2 separate regions of the Homo sapiens genome follow, and region 1 is linked to region 2. Evidence: promoter capture Hi-C in human tissues and cell types (Jung and others, 2019). All regions are on one chromosome and are shown on one strand. Each heading gives the region's core, a stretch centred on a gene start or on the middle of the fragment in contact. The rest is flanking DNA. Distances are from core to core; before and after follow the strand shown.

Region 1 (3,242 bases), core at 569-3,068, 110 kb after region 2:
CTGTTATTAACCCCATTATACAGATGAAACAGATTTTGAGGTGCCAGAGTCAGACAGCTTATAAGTGGAAGATCTGGGATTCAAATCTAGGACTTCTGACTCCAAAGCCTATGTTCTTGCCTTAATTTTTTCTTATATTCTACATTTAATTTTCACAGCAACCTATCAGGTAGTTATTTTGAATTTTCCTATTTTATAGGTGAGGAAACATAGGCTTAGAGAGGTTAAGAAGCTTCTAAGGTTACATACATAGTAAGTGTTATGATTCAAATCCAATTCTTTGACTCTAAAGCTTGTGTTCTGTACCATTATGTAAGCCTAGGCTTTAGAAACATGACAGACCTCCTGCTAAATGTAGCAGATTGAATATGCATATTTCTGTTAACTCCACTATAAAGAATAGCAAAGGTATAATATGGATAAAAAGAAGGAGAACAGAGATGATGACAGACAGTGATGCCAGCAGAATTTTGGAATATGGAAATTCAGTGGACGAGTAGTAACTGACTCAGCGGAATCAACAGAGCTGCTTTCTAAAGTCAAATGAGGAAGAGGAGCAAAAAGAAACAGCCTGATTTGTCTATTGACCACAGTAACTACTTGGGAATTGGATTGCTAAGATGTCCCTATAAGCATAGAGACTAAAAAACAAGAATTGATAGAAGCTGAAAAACAGAGTAATTGATAGAAAGTTTATATAAGGAATATTTAGACATCATCACCCCTTACTCCTCTTCCCCATCCCACCTGAATCCCCATCCCACCTGAATCCCCATCCCAAGCAGGCAACTGGTTTTCACCATTGCAGCAGAAGGTGGGAGATTTACTCTTTGGAAAAGCTGAACCACTCTAGATGCCAGGCATAGCTGAGAATGGAACTAAAGGTGTGCTTTGTTGCAAACATGACTGCTGTAAGAAAGTCTGTGTGTTAAATAATCAGCCCCCTTACCACACTACACTCTCAGAATGTTCTAAGCAGGATATGAGAGGAGTGTATTCTCGGGGCTGACATTTGAGGGCTCAGAAACAAAATAGCCACATTCCCTGCCTGGTCACTTTAAGGTGATGCCCATCAATCAACACATCCCACCCATGCACACAGAGCTCACAGTTTTTTATTGCTTCACTTTTAATATTAACAGACAGCCAGAGATAATTGCACTTTTGAGAAAAAGTTCTCACATAAAGTACAGAGCCCAAAACAATCAAGCAAATGACAGAAATCAGAAGAAACAGAAAGAATATAGGTTGCTGAAGAAAACAACCAAAAAACCCAACTGTAACTAACATTCTCAGAGAAGATTTTGTATCCATTAAAGCAGGGGAGAACAGAGTGCAGTAAAAATGAATAGGAAGAGAACAAGAAAGAACTCTTGCAATTTAAAGTATAATAATTTTTTTGTTTGTTTCAGTAAGCAGGCTAGAAAATGAAGTAGGTCAGATAGTGAAACAAAAAGGCAGAGAGACAGAAAATAGATGAAAAAGCAAAACAGTCGGAGGTTTAATCAGGGAACCCAATAGCTGACTAACAGAATCTTCAGAAACAGAATAGAGGAAAAGAAAGGAAGAAATTAATAAATATCACAAGAAAATTTTCCAGTGCTGAAAGATACGTGTTTTCATAATGAAAAGGCCCATTTCAGTGTAATAAAAAGATTCACATGATGGCAAATTGTTATAAAATTTCAGAACAATGGGGATAAAAATTCCTAAAAGCTTCTTGAATGGGGTGGGGCATGGATGGTGGAGTCTAAACATACAAAGTATAGGGATTTGAGTAGCAGAGGACTTTTTGCCACAATAAAGCTAGAAGATAATGGGTAATAGCTTCAGAATTTTGAGGAGAAGTGATTTCCAACCCACAATTTTATGCCCAAACTGTCATTCAAGTGTGAGGGTAAACTAAACTCATTTTGAGGTCTGCAAAATCACAAAATATTCACCTGCCTTAACGTACTTTCTCGGGAAGTTACTGAAGGATATGCTTCTCCAGAATGAGGGAGGAAATAAATAAAGAGATACAGAATCCAGGAAACAGGGTCTCTGACACAGGAGGATGGTGAAAACAATTCCCACAGGAAGGAAAGCTCTACGAAAGCAACTATGCAGGAGACCTAGAGAGCAGCCAGTCTAAATAGGAGCAGGAACAAAGAAGGCACTAGGAGGTATGTCTCTAGGAAAATATAGTTGGGATTTTCACCATGGTGAGAAGAATTTAGTTTTGTGAGATTTTTAGGGGAAGAATTGGTGATAGATACATAGAAAACCAAGGAAAAGAAAAAGATAGGCAATTAATAACTTCAGAAAAAAATAGAAAATTGAAGAAAGGAAATAAGATCATGACATACTCTGATTCAGTTATGTGTTGCTGTGTATAGTTTGGTGTTTAGCCAAAAATGATAGCAACACTGTTGACAGGGTGAGGGGAAGGGAAGTGTTTGGGGGGTGAGGGGAAGGAGGGTGGGTGTAACAGAGCTACAGTAGCATCTTCCATAGTGTAAACTCTGAAACTGATGTCTAAAGTGGAAAAACCCAGAAAATAGCAACTTAAGCATTTTATTCAGAAGTATGAATTAAAAACAAACAGCTTTAAAAAAAGGAGAGGTGAAAATGGTTGCCTCTAAGGAATAGGGTATGAAGAGTGAAGGGAATTTCATTGTAAGCTTTGTACTGTTTGACCTTTTCACTTACGTAGGTGTATTATTTTCTTTTTTTTTTTTTTTTTTGAGACGGAGTCTCACTCAGTCACCCAGGCTGGAGTGCAATGGCGCGATCTCGGCTCACTGCAAGCTCCGCCTCCCGGGTTCAGGCCATTCTCCTGCCTCAGCCTCCCGAGTAGCTGGGACTACAGGCGCCCACCACCATGCATGGCTAGTTTTTTTTTGTATTTTTAGTAGAGACGGGGTTTCACCATGTTATCCAGGATGGTCTCGATCTTCTGACCTCGTGATCCGCCCATCTCGGCCTCCCAAAGTGGTAGGATTACAGGCGTGAGCCACCGCGCCCAGCCAGGTGTATTATTTTCTATGAAAAGTGTAGACCACATTTAGGAAAAGAGATGTATTTTAACAGAAGTAAAGGGAAATCGGGAAGGAGGCCCAGGTATAGAACATTACTGAAATAGTAAATGGGGGCATAATAGCACTATTTTACCTATGGTTCTTTACAAAGCCATTTCCTATTAATTGTCTCATTTAATCCCCCTAGAAGTATAGGCAAAGTTAATATTGTCCCTCTTTTCC
Region 2 (3,077 bases), core at 344-2,843:
CTTGCTGTAACCCTGCACTCCTACACTTTATTGCCTACTGCTGACTACTACTAGCTCCAATTCCTCTTTCTGCTTCATAAATGCAAGCATTACCCTCCCCCCCCAAATTTCCTTATTTTTCAAAATTCTCTTCCTGATGCCAGCTATTGCCATGGTTTCCACTTCTATGCTGATAACTCAAACTTTTACCTCTAGCTACAATGTTTAGGCTGAGCTAAAGATTTGCATTTCCAACTCCATGCTGGACAGCTCTATGTGTCTGTCTCATTAGACCTTTAATTCAACATGTCCAAAAAATGAATTCATAATCTACACTAAGCTTATGGCTTTATTTCTGATAATGGCATTACCATCCTTCAGCTCAGAGGTCTAAAACCTAAGAATTAGATTTGGTCCCTCACACTTCTTCAGCATTCAGTTAATTATGGAGTCTTGACATAATCATCTCCAGTATATTTGTCTCCTTACCAATGACACCATTATAACTTATTTCAGGAATTTTTTGCCTCTCACTAGGCTGATCCCATTACCCCTTCAAAAGAATCTCCGATAAGCGTTCCTAACTTTTAGCTAAATGTCTAAATGCAGTTAATAGAAAGTCCCTTCTCTATGGGCTTTCTACAGAACAAAATGATTTCCTGCAGTGCAAATCTGACCATATCAATATTCTGTTCCGAACTCTTCAAAAAACTACCCATCTCCTTTAGGATTACACCATTCACCATCTGGACCTCGGTCGACTTTCCCAGTCTCATATCCATTCTGTGCATAGGAGTCCCCCCATTTCCTCCTCTTCCCACACAAGTTATGCTCAGTCATTTCTCCACAGTATTGCAACTGTCTTCCCTGAAAAACTCTTCAACACTTTACTCTCTCCAAGTACAATTCAGACATCACTTTCTTTCTAAAGCCTTCTCAGCAACGGCCCCTTGAGCAATTAACACATATGTGACTGATACATACATACATATATATACACATAGGAGTACTTATTTGTTCAGATCTGGCTCCCAAACTTAATCCCGAAAACTGGAACAATATCTTGCCAATCTCCAGTGTCTGGTATAGCGCCAGTAATATAAAAGGTGCTGCGACCAGTGGCCAAATAGGGGAAAACCCCAGCAAAAGGGTAACCTAGCACTCACAGTGGTTCTCAAAGACTGGCACTGAATGCCTGGTCTTGGGCTGGCTCCCGAGGCTCGTTTTCTTAGGGCCTCACCTCTGGCACTTCTTATAAGATGCCAGAGTCAGGCCCCCAAGCCAACTGCTGGGCCCTCAGCTGGGGTCCTATGAGGCGGTCCCAGGGGCATCCTCAGGCTCCCCACTCCAGTCACAGGGAAGGGAAAGGGGCGGGGCGCAGCGTGGGCCGGGCCAAGGGCTCCTCAAGTCCCCAGGGGCCTAGGCCAGCCTCTCGGCTCCCATCCCAGTGCAGGTCCCGGTTGATCCAGGGCCCCAGGGGGGTTCCATTTTGAGACACCCCGCACCCCAGCCCGCCGCTCCGGCCGTCTCCGCACTTACAGACCCGGGGGAAGGCCGCCGTCAGGATCCGGCACCGCCAGGAGCTCCGGCCCCTCGGGGCTCCGGGAAGGGGGAGGGGCAAGGAACCCGAGCCAAAGGGGGACCCAACGGAACCGGAAGGGCAGCCCTGGCCGGACAAAGACAACTTCCAGGTCCCATGGTCCTCTCCGCCAATCGGAAGGCTCGGAGGACAACAGGGGCCCCGAGAGGGAATTTCTGCGTTGTGGGCGGGGCGCAGACGGAGGGCACCGTACTCTGGGCACTAGCTTCACTGCCTACTACCCCGAGGTGCCTTAGCTCGTAAGCGTCTGTGGCTCAGGCCCTGTGCGCCTCGCAGGGACCCGCTGCTCGGGACCCCCGTCTCAGCGGCTCTTCTGTAGCTGGGCCTAGACGGTCCGCTGCCTCCTTGGGCCTGAAGGGCTCCTCTGCACTTAAACTTTGGTAAGTCTTTTTAGCCTAGGGGTGTAGACTCGTCGCGCGGGAGCCCGAAGAGCAGAAAGCTCTCCCCTCACTTTTGGATGTGTTTTTCAGGGTTCTTGCCTTGGAGTTCTTCCTAGGGCAAACTCTTGCACTCCCATGGCTTCCGTTACCTACTTCATGCTGACCATTCACAACCCAGGCAGCTACATGGACGAGATCTCCAGCTGTCCTGATGTGAAAGTACCTTTTAATGATCTCAAGTTCATCTCATCTCCTATCCAGACCGGAAAACTTGAGGATCCTTCTAGAGTTCTTTTCCTTGCCAATCCAGTTTACTGGTTTTTGACCATTCTTTTCGTTTTTGGTGGTGGTGAGGGGCTTTTTATTGAGGTAAAACATGCGTAATGTTTATTACTTTAATCATTTGTAAGTGTAAAACTTGATGGTCTTGAACTCTGGAGTTAAAGTGATCCACCCTCCTCAGCCTCCCAAAGTGCTGGGATTACATGTGTGAGCCACTGCTCCCAGCCTTTCCCTCTTTTTAATGTAGTTATTTACAACTATACATTTCACTTTGATCACTGTTTTCACTACAGCTCATAAGTTTTTGTATGTTGTGTTATTTTCATTCATTTCTAAGTATTTTCTAATTTCCCTTTTGATTTCTTCTTCTTTTTTTTTCTTTTTTTTGAGATGGAGTTTCGCTCTTGTTGCCCAGGCTGGAGTGCAATGGTGTGATCTCGGCTCACCGCAACCTCCGCCTCCTGGGTTCAAGCGGTTCTCCTGCCTCCGTCTCTAAAGTAGCTGGGATTACAGGCATGCGCCACCACACCGGGCTAATTTGATATTTAGAGATATGGAGACGTGGTTTCTCCGTGTTGGTCAGGCTGGTGTCGAACTCCCGACCTCAGGTGATCCACCCGCCTTGGCCTCCCAAAGTGCTGGGATTACAGGTGTGAGCCACCGTGCCTGACCTTGATTTCTTCTTTGACCCAGTTGTTAAGAGTGTTGTTTAACTTTCAGATATTTGTGACTTTTCCAGTTTTCCTTCTGTTATTAATTTATAACTTCATCTGTGTGGTCCGAGAAGATACTTTGTATGATATCTATCTTGTAAAATATTATGAAACTTGAATTGT

Evidence for each region. Contacts are between HindIII fragments. The study calls those that stand out against the background at their distance.
Region 1: a contact is called between a fragment that was not itself captured here and the fragment with the promoter of ZBTB26 in region 2, in 3 of the 25 tissues and cell types used here (aorta, bladder and mesenchymal stem cells).

Annotation. Positions count from the first base shown.
Region 1 is chr9:123,041,193-123,044,434 of GRCh38, forward strand. The region is part of intron 13 of RABGAP1 (RAB GTPase activating protein 1); the gene reads left to right. It also overlaps a transcript of GPR21 not described here. Among named protein-coding and RNA genes, the nearest start is that of GPR21, 9.1 kb to the left of the region's middle. The HindIII fragment of the contact is 4,214 bases long and covers 1-3,242 here.
Region 2 is chr9:122,929,919-122,932,995 of GRCh38, forward strand. It overlaps ZBTB26 (zinc finger and BTB domain containing 26), which reads right to left and starts at 1,594. Exons shown (of 2, transcript NM_020924.4): 1 at 1,519-1,594. It also overlaps a transcript of RABGAP1 not described here. RefSeq lists a silencer at 1,366-1,705. The HindIII fragment of the contact is 7,569 bases long and covers 1-3,077 here.